Regions from separate parts of the Homo sapiens genome. Here region 2 is linked to region 1. The links are contacts of gene promoters, found by promoter capture Hi-C in blood cells and fetal thymus (Javierre and others, 2016). All regions are on one chromosome and are shown on one strand. The core of a region is centred on a gene start or on the middle of the fragment in contact, and the rest is flanking DNA. Distances in the headings are between cores, read along the strand shown. Region 1 holds the start of SLC26A8 (solute carrier family 26 member 8). Region 2 has its middle 22 kb from the start of BNIP5.

What was found. The method cuts DNA at HindIII sites, captures the fragments that hold promoters and counts their contacts. A CHiCAGO score of 5 or more calls a contact.
Region 2: a fragment that was not itself captured here is called in contact with the fragment with the promoter of SLC26A8 in region 1 in 15 of 17 cell types (total CD8 T cells, naive CD4 T cells, total B cells and 12 more); the score reaches 27.3 in total CD8 T cells.

The regions. Positions count from the first base shown.
Region 1 is chr6:36,021,155-36,027,744 of GRCh38, reverse strand. SLC26A8 (solute carrier family 26 member 8) reads left to right here and starts at 3,104. Exons shown (of 20, transcript NM_052961.4): 1 at 3,104-3,241. RefSeq lists enhancers at 1-326, 2,658-3,157, 3,158-3,659. The HindIII fragment of the contact is 10,062 bases long and covers 2,171-6,590 here.
Region 2 is chr6:36,355,630-36,362,219 of GRCh38, reverse strand. It overlaps a transcript of ETV7 not described here. Among named protein-coding and RNA genes, the nearest start is that of BNIP5, 22 kb to the right of the region's middle. RefSeq lists an enhancer at 977-1,136. The HindIII fragment of the contact is 245 bases long and covers 3,917-4,161 here.

The DNA.
Region 1 (6,590 bases), core at 1,855-4,354:
GGGACTCTCCGAGAGCCGAGATTTTACCCAATATGGAACCTCTCCGCGGGCGGGGCTTCGTGAGAGAAGAGGATGGGAGGAGCAGTTCTCGCGAGAAGAGAACAATAACTGGAGACCAAAGGCAGAAACTCCCAGGGACTGTCTCCTTAAGGGCGCGAAGGCGGACCGGGGAAGGAAGAGAGAAGCTGGCAGCACACGCCTCGCGCGCCTCACCGTGGCCGGCGGGGCAAATACCTGGCTCTGTGGTGGAAAACGACACTGACAAATAGCGTGTCGGGGAAAGAGTCAAAAGATCTTTAACTGCGAGTAGTTACCAGCAGCAGAGCACCTGCTCACCTGAACCCCCAAATTCCAAAAAACACTTGCATAAAAAAGAGACAAGTGGCCGGGCGTGGTGGCTCACGCCTGTAATCCCAGCACTTTGGGAGGCCGAGGCGGGCGGATCACCTGAGGTCGGGAGTTCGAGACCAGCCTGACCAACATGGAGAAACCCCGTCTCTACTAAAAATGCAAAATTAACCGGGCGTAGTGGCGCGCACCTGGAGTCTTAGCTATTCGGGAGGCTGAGGCAGGAGAATCGCTTGAACCCGGGAGGCGGAGTTGCGGTGAGCCGAGATCGTGCCATTACACTCCAGCCTGGGCAACAAGAGCGAAACTCCGTCTCAAAAGAAAGAAAGAAAGAAAGAGACAGGTTCCGGCCAGAAGGCTGTTGCATTCCCATCTGCTCAAGGACATATGGGTTACTCTTTGAGATGCTGACGAAATATGTCCCAAAGGCAAATGTTAACCCTGCATCAAAGCTGAGGCTTTCCAGGGGCTGGGCTCAGTGGCTCACACCTGTTATCCCAGCACTTTGGGAGGCCGAGGCGGGTGGATCACGAGGTCAAGCGATAGAGACCATCCTGGCCAACATGGTGAAACCTCGTCTCTACTAAAAAAAATACAAAAATTAGCTGGGCGTGGTGGCACGACCCTGTAGTCCCAGCTTCTCGGGAGGCTGAGGCAGGAGAATTGCATGAATCCAGGAGGCGGAGGTTGCAGTGAGCTAAAATCGCGCCACTGCACTCCAGCCTGGCGTCAGAGGGAGACTCCGTCTCAAAAACAAAAACAAAAACAAAAACAAACCGAAGCTTTACATTAAAACTCTCCCAGTTAAACTTACATGCAGAAAAATCACCCTGGGAGTTTAAGATGCAAGTTCCCAGAACTCACAGGGAGTCTAATTGGGTAGGTCAGAGGAGGTCTTGATCAAGAGCATGCATTTTTATAATACATCTTAGGTGATTCTGATTCAGGAAAGTCTCTGATATCTCCCTTTGAGAAGCATTTAAAAAACCGTTACACTGAAGATTTGAAACTGACTCCTATCCTGAAGAGCCATCAGTGAAGAGGATTTTAAGCATTTAACTCAGGCCTCTTCGAGTAAGGAGAATAGGGCAGGAGTCTCATCGAATTTAGGCAAGTCAACTGACCTTTCCTGAACCTCAGTTCCAGCTTCTACGAGAGAATTCCTGCCCTGCATTCCCGACTAACAGAGTCATTTGTAAAAACCAAACAAGATAAATGTGAATGGGCAAGGCATTCTAACCCCATGCCTACATCCATTATCAACCTATGCCTATGCTAAAGCTTGTTACAATGAGCAGAAGAATCAGATCCTGTCTCATTCTCTTAGTTTCTTGTATTAGAAATAACTAGATCCAAGCCAGGACATTTCTCAACATTTCCCGTGATTATTCTATTTTGTGTCATACACACCTTGGAGGGCTCAGACTTTGCATATCTTGTCCCAACATCTAGCACAATGTCTAGAACATAAAACATGTGTCATAAATATTTGTTGAAAAAATTATGAACAGTGACCATGATTTCAAGTGGTACAGTATCCTCAGTCCTCTTCAAGGAAAGCAATATAAAACCAAAAAACAGATAGTCATGGGTGATTCATGGAAAGCTGTTTTGGATCCAATGTAGCTTAGGCTGGAATTCTCTTATCTACAAAAACATGTTGCTTGAGAATGTTCCAAACTAGGGAGGATAGGAAGCTTTCTAAGAAGTAATGGAGGGTGAAGGGGAAGTAAGAGCAAAAACATGATTGTGAAGACATGAGGGATGGGGTTGGGGGGATCAAGGGAATGAGGGAATGGTTACAAAGGGTGAGGAGGAAGCTTGGAAGTAGGAATCCTCAGAAATGCACATTTTTATCCTACAAATTGGGATGATGAGGTGAGGGTGAATGAAAGGGTAAAGATAAAGTAAGCAGTATATTCATACACTCATTCAACCAATGTGTATTAAATGCCTACTAGGTGTCAAACACTTGCAGTTTAAAAGTGATTAAAAACTACAGTTGCTGCCGGTGTGGAGCTTACAATCAATGGGAGGGCAATCATTCAACAAAAATTAATTGAATACTTCCTATGTCCACCACACTGCTGTAGGCACTGATAATAAAACAGTTAATGAAAGGGATAAAAGTCCTTGCCCTCATAGGGGTAAGATGATTTACAAAAAGGAATACATAAAGTGCATTATAAGGTAGACATTAACACAGTCATCAAACAAACAAGTGTAAAACTGTAACTGGGCCAAGCAGGAATACAAGGTGGAGTGAGAGACAGTGCTAGGGACAGGGATAGGGTGGGAGGAGGGTAAAGGGAGTGAGTGCAGATGGCATGTCTGCATCCAGAGCAGATCTGGGCAGGAGGGTGTCATTCAGTGGGGAGAGCCGGGTTTGTGGGGCAGACAGCCTATGGTTGGAGACCTGGGTGACCCTCCTAGCCTCCATTTCTTTTTACCTCTTCTGACCTGAGGAAGGCTTAAGTCTTCCGGAGACGTTAGTGAATTACCGTCTGTGCAGTACACATGTGACACATGTGCACTGCTGTATGTTCAGGACACGAGGCCTGGCACCAAATAGGCCCTCGATCAAGAATAGCAAAACCTCGGAGAGAGAAGGAGCCTTGGTATACAGGTTTACCAAATACCAAGGGGATCCCACGACTCAGGTATGAGGAGGGCGACCCAGGTACCACTTTCCTGGCTCCCTAGCCCAGCTGCTCATGCTCCTCTTCCTCGTCCCCTCCCCCACTCTCATCTCCTCAGCCCGCCCGGAACGCCCGCGGGCTAGGCCACAACGGCTCGGGAACCGCCGCCGGTATCCGCGTCCGCAGCGCCGCCAGCCAGGCGAGAGCCGTGTGGGATCCCAGCGCCCGCACTCCCGCCCCCGCCAAGGAGCCAGGTGAGCCGCTGCTGGGAGACGCCTGGGCGCCGGGGGCTGCAGGTCCCAGGGCGGGGGCTGCGTCCGTCACCGGCAGGTACCCAGGTATGCCGCAGAGCCAGGCACGCCGTGGGCACTCAGTCAGTATCTGTGGAATGAATGAATGATGGTCGTCCCTGGGAGCTTATCTCTGAGGTATTGTCTCTACTTTCAAAGGCCGTGTGGATGGCAATGACAAGAGACAACAGTGTGTGCGTTTTGCAAGCTGCATCCTTTCAAATTCTCCTGTCTATATTGTCAAAAGCCCCAGAACTGACGTGCTACCTGCACCCCACCGCCTACCCCATCCATTTCCTCCTGAGGCCTGACTGCCCGGCCGTTCCTCTTCCTTTCAGACCCCACTGCTTTTGTTAATTTTGTTCCCTGTGACTGAATCCCCACCCCCACCTCCTTGCCCCTTTCTTTTCATGTCAAATGCCGTTGATGTGTCAGGGGCCCCGTGAAGCCTTCTCCAGCACCCCCACCCCAATAATGAGCATCTCTCCAACACACCATGTTACTCTATCCACATTGCATGGAAGGTGGTTGTCCTATGTTTATGTGTCCAATGGTCATCCGCTTAAGGACTGTCATCTTACTAGTCATCCCTAGCCACTAGCCAGAGTGACTAAAGGATCTAAAGGCCAGGCTCTTTGCTTATACCTTTTCTGTATTCCCAATACATTCTCCATAAAAACCTAGGTAGTAACAGGTGTAGGGTTGTTTCTGATGGAATTACAAATGCTTATTTTGAAAATTCGGAAGTAAATTTTGCCTTTCCGTGATTATAGAAAACATAAGAAAGTTAACAATATCAGGGGGAAGATATTCCTGCAACTAAACTAGCTTTCAAGATTTCATATTATTTGGGTCAATAGCTAAAAAATTGGATTGTATTTAAACTTTTTATTCTTGACTTTTTTTTTTTTTTTTTTTTTTGAGACAGAGTCTTGCTCTGTCGCCCAGGCTGGAATGCAGTGGTTTGATCTCGGTTCACTGCAACCTCTGCCTCCTAGGTTCAAGCGATTCTCCTGCCTCACCCTCCTGAGTAGCCAGGACTACAGGCACGCCATCATGCTCGGCTAATTTTTGTATTTTTATTAGAGACGGGGTTTCACCATGTTGGCCAGGCTGGTCTTGAACTCCTGACCTCAGCTGATCCAACCGCCTTGGCCTTCCAAAGTGCTGGGATTACAGGCATGAGCCACTGAGCCATGTCTGGCCTATTCTTTACTTTTAAAGCACTCTGAACACAGATAATGTAAATAATTAGATAAATGGATGGATGGATGGATGGATGGATGGATGGATGGATGGATGGATAAGGGTACTATGGAGGGTGAAAGAGCTAGGCCAAAAGTGCTTGTATTTTAACAGGGCCCCCAAATTTAGCACTGAAAGGCTCATGAAAGATAATCCACTATATTTATAGTGGTAGTCATACTTTAATTTTTATCAGAATCACCTGGACAGCTTCTTTGCTTTTTTTCTACCTAGCAAGACCTACTGAATCAGAATCTCTGGGGGCCCAGCAGTCTGGACAGCTTCTTAAAACAGACTGATGGCCCCCAGAGTTTCTGATTCAGTAGGTCTTGCTAAGTGGGGCCTACTCAACAGTAGGAGTTTCTGGTCATTGCATCTTCTTGGGAAGTGTCCTGCTAGTACATGAAAATGAGCCACTAGGATTTCTATGAAATCAAGAAAGACATAATGGAGCTGGAGAAATTCCAAAGAAAATTACTTAAAAAAAATAATAAGGAAACCATGCGTTTACCCTTGCTGCTGTTAGCCAGACATTTGATGGAGTTCCTTAAAGACAACTTTCCACCTGCTCCTCCTAGCCATCCTCACTGTGGTCGTAGGAGTTTATGACTTGATAACATCTCCTAGACTAATATTAATGGTCTCCAATTGGCTGTTTTGCCTCAGTCTCTCCTATCTCCACTGTCCAACAACTTTTTGTGATGATGGAAATTTTTTATATCTGCATATCTGCACTGTCCAGTAAGGTAACCACTAGCCATATGTGGCTGTTGAGCACTTGAAATCTAGCTAGTATAATTGAGGATCTGAATTTTTTATTTTAAGTTTAAATAGCCACATGTAGCCAGTGGCTACCATACTGGACAACTCAGCTCTAGAACATAACACTGGCACATTTCATCTTCCCAAAATGCATCTCTGTGCGTATTACTACTTCTGCTGAAAGACTTTAAATAGGCCAGGCGCAGTGGCTCACGCCTGTAATCCCAGCAATTTGGGAGGCCGAGGCGGGAGGATCACCTGAGGTAGGGAATTCAAGACCAGCCTGGCCAACATGGCGAAACCCTGTCTCCACCAAAAATACAAAAATTAGCCAGATGTGGTGGCACATGCCTGTAATCCCAGCTACTCAGGAGGCAAGGCAGGAGAATCGCTTGAACCTGGGAGGTGGAGGTTGCAGTGAGCTAAGATCGCGCCACTGAACTCCAGCCTGGGTGACAGAGCTGTACTCCATCTCCAAAAAAATAAAAAATAGGCCGGGCGCGGTGGCTCACGCGTGTAATCCCAGCACTTTGGGAGGCCGAGGGAGGCAGATCACGAGGTCAGGAGATCAAGACCATCCTGGCTAACACCGTGAAACCCTGTGAGCTGAGATCACGCCACTGCACTCCAGCCTGGGCGACAGAGCGAGACTCTATATCAAAAAATAAAATAAAATAATATACATATATATTTATATGTATACGTAAACATATGTAAAGTAATTGACAACATTTAAAAGCCAGAAGATTCCACATAAAAATCTGGCATTATGGCTTCTCCTGGAAAAGATCAGATCTAAGCCATTCCGGGCCCCACATTGACCGATGGCAAAAATGGCTAGAGCTAAGCAGCTTCTGCTGCCTTTGCCAGCCCCACTGTTCCCACCACTCCTTGACGGTCATATTTTGCCTATTTTACACCAATCCTCCTTTAATGTCACTTTCAGAACAAAATGCTGGGTTCTAGACTCTCGATGTGACCCAGGATATCAGTTTTGTCATTAGCAGACTAATTAGGCTTGTTTAGGTTGCTGGGAACAAAGAGACTACTCATGGAAGTACATTGGACAATTATACGGGGAAAGTAAGGAAGATTGGGTCTGTATTCCTATGGGTGGGGAAAGAAAGGTGGGGGGGGATTCCTTACATTTCAATATACAGTTCTACCTTTTTTTCTTTTTGTAAGAGACATGAGGCACTAATTATCTTAAGTAATATATTGTAAAATACCTCTCCCATCCTCTTCTGTATTCCCCAGTCACCTCACTGGTTTAGAGAATTTGTGATCTTTAGTTCATGGTTGTTAT
Region 2 (6,590 bases), core at 2,790-5,289, 330 kb before region 1:
CGCCATTCTCCTGCCTCAGCCCCCTCCCCAAGTAGCTGGGACTACAGGTGCCCGCCACCGCGCCTGGCTAATTTTTTGTATTTTTAGTAGAGACAAGGTTTCACCATGTTAGCCAGGATGGTCTCGATCTCCTGACCTCGTGATCCGCCTGCCTCAGTCTCCCAAAGTGCTGGGATTACAGGTGTGAGCCACCGCGCCCGGCCACACCAGCTAACTTTTGTATTTTTAGTAGAGACAGGGTTTCACTGTGTTGGTCAGGCTGGTCTCGACCTCAGGTGATCCACCTGCCTTGGCCTCCCAAAGTGTTGGGGTTACAGGTGTGAGCCACCGCACCCAGCCAACAAAGAATTTTAAAAAGCAGGAGATACATTCTCATGGTTTGAAAAAGTGGCCAGGCATGATTACATTACAATTAAAGAACTGACAATAGATAAAGAATTTATGAAAAATGAGTATAATAAAAAGTTCATTAATGAAACAAATAATACAAGTCACTGTCTTGGTCCAGTTGAACCATTTACAGCATTAACCCATGAGCATGAGCTCTGGTCTTCCTCTTCTCTGTTAGGTGGATTCTTTCTTAGAAAGGCTTTTTCCTTCATAGGAAAGTTCCAGATCTAGCATTTGATTTAATCCTGGTGGCTCTGCTGGGTCTTGGGCTCTTAACTGCAGGAAGCCTGGGCTGATGCTGGGGACCCATCCTCTTTGTCACAGAGGATCCTAGGGCCACAGTCTTCCTTGGCTTCCTCCTCTGGTCCCACGGTGTTAGTGATCCACATTTTCTACTCAAATGTTCTCACAAAAGGTTTGTAGAGACACACAGAAAACACAGACCTTTACAGAGCAAAGGCCTGTACCGCAGAAATGTCCGTATCTGGTGGTAAATGCGAGGGCAGTGTGAGCTCAGAGGGAGCCTGTTGAATGCCGGTGTCAGGGCCCTGCGCTGCTGGCGAGCTCCCTCAGTGACACCTCGGCCCTCAAAGGACCTCGGTGGGAACTAAGCCACCAATGGGACAGCCCCAGAACTTGAGTGAGGAGTTTAAAGCAGGTTGTTCTGAAACCAGTATATGCAACTCAGAAATATTTTAATCGTGATCTTGATTTTTTTAAAGTCCCGAATCCTTTTGAGTTAATTGCTCATATACTGGGGATGGGGAGTGATGGTGAGTAAACAAAGGGGAATAGGGCCCTGGCTTGGAAAGTTTGCACAGAAGTAGGGGAAACAGATGTAGCTGATGAGCAAACCATTGCAGTCCCCAGGGAGAGATGACGTGAGAAGTGTGCCTATTGGGGACAGTACTGGACAAAGTGGTGCTAGTGAATTCGGCTTGAGAGGCACCAGGGAGAGTTTCCCTCCGGAGAATCACAGGCTTCTGCTCTCTTTTTCCAACTTCCCTTTTGCAGGGCTGAGGTCTGGAAGCACAGTGGGGCTGTGGGCCTTCTGATCCTTGAGGGGGTCAGGGAGACTGCACGGGAAATGGGATTCTGGGCTGTGGGCTTCTCTCCACGGAAAGGCCTGCAGTTTAAAACCATGTCCACTAGGTGGTGCAAAAGCCTCTTTTTGTGTTAGTGTGGGGCCGGGCGGTGGCTGACTGAATGTTCTATGGACAGCAAGCCTGCCTTCTCTCACGGGGAGATGTGTACTCTCCAGCTCAGGCATGCTCTGTAAGTAGACATCCAGGCCCTGCTTGAACACCTCCAGTGACGGGGAACTCACACCTCCAGGGGGCAAAGTAAGTAGCAGGGGTGGGGGTGGAATTGAGGGGCACCATAAGCCAGCTGTCCGTTGATAGCATCAGCCTCCTCTCCTAACCCACAGGCCACTGGTTTCTGCAATTCCTATTTTCCCATTCTCTTTATTGGGAATAACTTCTTATCTCCTCTTCTTATGATCACTTTATCCTTGAGTAGTTTGTCAGCAGGGGCCTAGATGAGGCCTCTTACAGATCTGGGACATCTGCTAGGGGCATGTCAGAGCCTCTCTACCCTCACCCTACCCATGTAGACCTGATTAGGAATCAAAAAGACTGGCCGGGTGCAGTGGCTCATGCCTGTAATCCCAGCACTTTGGGAGGCCGAGGCGGGCGGATTACGAGGTCAAGAAATCGAGACCATCCTGGCCAACATGGTGAAACTCCGTCTCTACTAAAAATAAAAAAATTAGCTGGGCATGGTGGCACATGCCTGTAGTCCCAGCTACTTGGGAGGCTGAGGCAGGAGAATCACTTGAACCCGGGAGGTGGAGGCAGTGAGCCGAGATCGCGCCACTCACTCCAGCCTGGCATCAGAGTGAGACTCGGTCTCAAAAGAAAAAAAAAAAGGACTGAGGCTTCCTTAGTTTTCTACTGGCTTTAGTTACACCACCCTTCTAGGACTCACTTTCTACTTTTGTAAAATGAAAGACAACATCCTTTGCCCTGCTTAGCACATGGAGTTGAGAAATTTCAAATGAAATAATGCATTCATTTATTTAACATTCATTGAGCACCTACTGTAGGTTAAGCACTGTCTAGAAACAGGAATATTGTGGTGACCAGAACAGATAAATAAACAAATCAATACAGAATAAAATGGCAGGTGGTGATATGTACTATGAAGGAAAATAAAATAGAATCAAGTGAGAGGGGCCAAATTTAAATTGAGCTGTCAGAGATGTAAAAAACATGTGTAAGCAGGAACAAATCATCTTTACCTATGTCACTTTCTCTCCTGTAGTAGACTGTCCCCTTTCTTTCTTTTTTCTTTTTTTCTTTTTTCTTTTTTTTTTTGAGACTGAGTTTCGCTCTTGTTACCCAGGCTGGAGAGCAATGGTGCAATCTTGGCTCACCGCAACCTCCGCCTCCTAGGTTCAAGTGGTCCTCCTGCCTCAGCCTCCTGAGTAGCTGGGATCACAGGCGTGCACCACCACACCTGGCTAATTTTTGTATTTTTAGTAGAGACAGGGTTTCTCCATGTTGGTCAGGCTGGTCTTGAACTCTCGACCTCAGGTGATTTGCCCACCTTGGCCTCCCAAAGTGCTGGGATTATAGGTGTGAGCCACTTCGCCCAGCCTGTCCATCCCCTTTCTGTTTAATCTGCAGGTCACACCATGAAAGATGGACACTGTTGTTAGTTTGTTATGTGCAACCCAATGCAATCTTAATGGATATGAATAATGTAGACAGGCTGGGTGGAGAAGACCATCTTGGCCTAGAGCTGCCCCTCTCCCATCCTCTTCCTTTGGGGGAGCCATCAGCTAAGACCGAGATCACAAAGTCTCCTGAATAGACCTCAGTTCTCTAGATCTGGCCCATCTAAACATCCTAACTCAAGGAAGCACGGTGTATTGTTGAAAGTGCTCTGGCTGGAAAGCCCCAGAGTTCTAAATATGGCTCTTAAAATTCCAGCAATTCTGAGCAGGAAGAGCTTTCCCCTCAGTCACATGATCATATGCTCCAGCCAGTGACAAGCTCAGGTTCTCGACCTGTGGTGTGGGGTGGGGAGTACATATCAGATTCTCAGGGGACAGCTGATTGTGGGTGGCTGAACGTGGCGTGCAAATCTCTAGAGAGCTTCTAAAGCACCAACAAAGGCACTTTCTTCTCCACCACCCCCACAAGGGTCAGTGAGCTGACCCAGTGTTAGGGTTTGGGGGATGGGGAAACTGAACATCAGGGGGACCTTGAGATTCTGGGATTCTGGGCTTTCAGCCAGGGACCCTTCCAACCTTAGGAACAGAATATGCCAACTCTAGCCCTCTGCAAACTCTAAAGTGATTTGCAATAAGAACATTATTTTTTCCTGACTGACCAGTGAGTAATTTACCAAGCTGGGTCTTGATTGGCCACCAAAAGAAAAAAGGGCCTTTGACAAAGCAGGAGACCTGAACTAGAGCCAGCAGCAGAAGGCCCCCAGTGAAATGACAGAAACAAAAGCTTGGCAGCTCAACCACATCTTTATTTTGAGCAAGATGAAGTGCCTTTCTGACAATGCAAATTAATTCACCCAGCTTTTAAGTGAGGAAGACATGTCCAGATCAAAGTCCAGCTTCCCTTCTAAGGAGGCCAGCCCTACGTCATCTGCAGCTACTGTATCAGTTAGAGTCATGCTGGCCATAGCATCTCAACTGAAATCTCAGTGGCTTGATGTGATAGACATTCATTTTCTTGGCCACATAAAGCTTGGTTCATGGGTGGGGAGGGATCTTCCCCATGAAGTCATCTGGGGACCCAGGCTGATGGAGGTTGTACTGTCTCCTTCATGTGGTTTCTGTATGGGGGATTGACACCCAGCCCGCAGGTAGGGAGGAGAAAGCGTGAAGGATTGGGGAGGTGTTTTTTTGTTTGTTTTTGTTTTTGTTTTTGAGACAGAATCTCACTCTGTCACCTGGGCTGGAGTGCAGTGGTACAATTTTGGCTCACTGCAACCTCCACCTACCAGGTTCAAGTGATTCTCATGCCTCAGCCTCCCGAGTAGCTGGGATTACAGGTGTGTGCCACCAAACTTGGCTAATTTTTTATATTTTTAGTAGAGATAGGGTTTTTCCATGTTGGCCAGGCTGGTCTCGAACTTCTGACCTCAGGTGATCTGCCTGCCTTGACCTCCCAAAGTGCTGGGATTACAGGCATGAGCCAGCGCACGTGGCCGGGGAGGTGTTCTTATGGGAGGCGCCCATCATTTCTGCCCATATTTGTTGTCAGAACTCAGGCTTGTGATATTCCACCTATATTCCTTGCTCCTTTTGAGTGACTTTTCCTCTTATTTACACCATTCTCCACCCCTCTTCATCCTGCTCTGTGGCCAGGAGACTGTCCTGTATGGATTGCCCCAGTGGGCTTCCTGTCCTCTGGCTCCTGGTTGGTTTTAGTCAAGAAACTCTCTGGTCGGAGATTGCCAAGGTATTTTATTTCTCTAGTCCCTCCCTGCTGGCTCCCACAGGTTGGCTGTGTTCTCCTACTTAAGGCTGCAGCTTCTGTGCGCTGCCCTCTCTGTGCAGCCATATCCTTTCCAAGCTGTGTCACTGCTCCTTCCCCTGGACCTTTTAGGCTTTCAGTTGAAATCTGTTCAACTGACATTCAGCAGCCCTCTCAGTGGCAAATGGTATCTTGATTTTCCTGAGATACCTGGCTCCCTACATGTAGATTAAAACATAGGTTTCTCCTTGTGGATCCAAAAAAAAGAGATAATTTGTAATGCACTGTCTGCCATATATCTTCTCCCAACTTCCCATCAAAACTCCATGCTGGCTTCCAATCCTTTACAGCTGCTTCTTTGCGTTATGGCATAGAACTTTGATGAATTAACCTGTGATGATGTTTTCACGGGTGGTGATGGGGTCCCGCAAATTTCCCTCCATAGTGTATCTCCACTTGATACACACATCTTCACAGGACAATGCCTTAATCCTTAGGAGAGACTGGCTGTGAAGTAATGCAGGTGTCAGCCCAGCATTCCATCTACCATCCTCCTGGTAATAACTTTGTCTCTGGGAGTAACTCTTTTCCTACTCCATCACAGTGTCCTGCCCCCAGCAGTTGGGGAGGGCCCTGTAGCCCAGGCTGGGCCATTAAGAGAAGCCCATTTCCGTGGCCACAGCAACTGGTCCAGATGGTGCATGATCCAGGATAGGCCAATCAGGGTCCTTCCCTGGGATTTCTCTTTCTGTGTCTGGCTGGGAAGTTACCCCAAGCTAGTGGCAGCTGTGTCTTCTGCCATGAGGGGACACCAGAGGGGCAGAAAGGTGAGGTGAAGTCCCTGGAGGGTCTGGTCTCCACTTCTAATCTTGGGGCTCTCGGAGCTGTCATGATCCCTGCAGATCTTTCTTCAATTCTTTTTAAAAAATTGATATATAATAGTTGTATATATGTTTGGGATACGTGTGTTTGTTTGTGTTTTTTTTTGTTTTTTTTTTTTTTTTGAGACAGGGTCTCACTCTTTTACCCAGGCTGGAGTGCAATGGTGCCATCATTGCTCATCATTGTTTCACTGTGTTGCCTAGGCTGGTCTCAAAACTCCTGAGCTCAATGCAATCCACCTGCCTTGGCTTCCCAAAGAGAAGGGATTACAGGCGTGAGCCACTGTGCCCAGCCACATGTGAAATTTTGATAGCTGTAATTGCTTCAATTCTTTGACAATCCCAATAGCTTTCGAATACATCTCCTTTTCACTTATGTTGGTTTGAGTTGTGGTTTCTGTCTTGCACAATTATGAAAGGTCTATTTCTTAAGGAGGTACAATTTTTAGTCAAGGGATTGTTTGATACTCTTTAAGTTCACTGCCAGGCCTACCACTTATCTCTGTCGTAGGAGGAGAGTTCCTGTAATGAGAGGTTTTTAAGACGTCCTTTGTTCTGGGATGAATCAGAGGGAATGACTGCCTTGGAGCTCAGGATATTAAACTGAGTGGTGTCAAATATTCCCAGGATCAATCGACAATGCCATGTGTACCATCTCCTCCTACAGGGATTAAAGGCCTGATATTTAGATATGATTCTAGTTTTCTCTCAAATCCATACTTTAAGAGCTTATGGGCTGGGTGCGGTGGCTCACACCTGTAATCCCAGCACTTTGGGAAGCCAAGGTGGGCAGATAAGTTGAGGCCAGGAGTTCGAG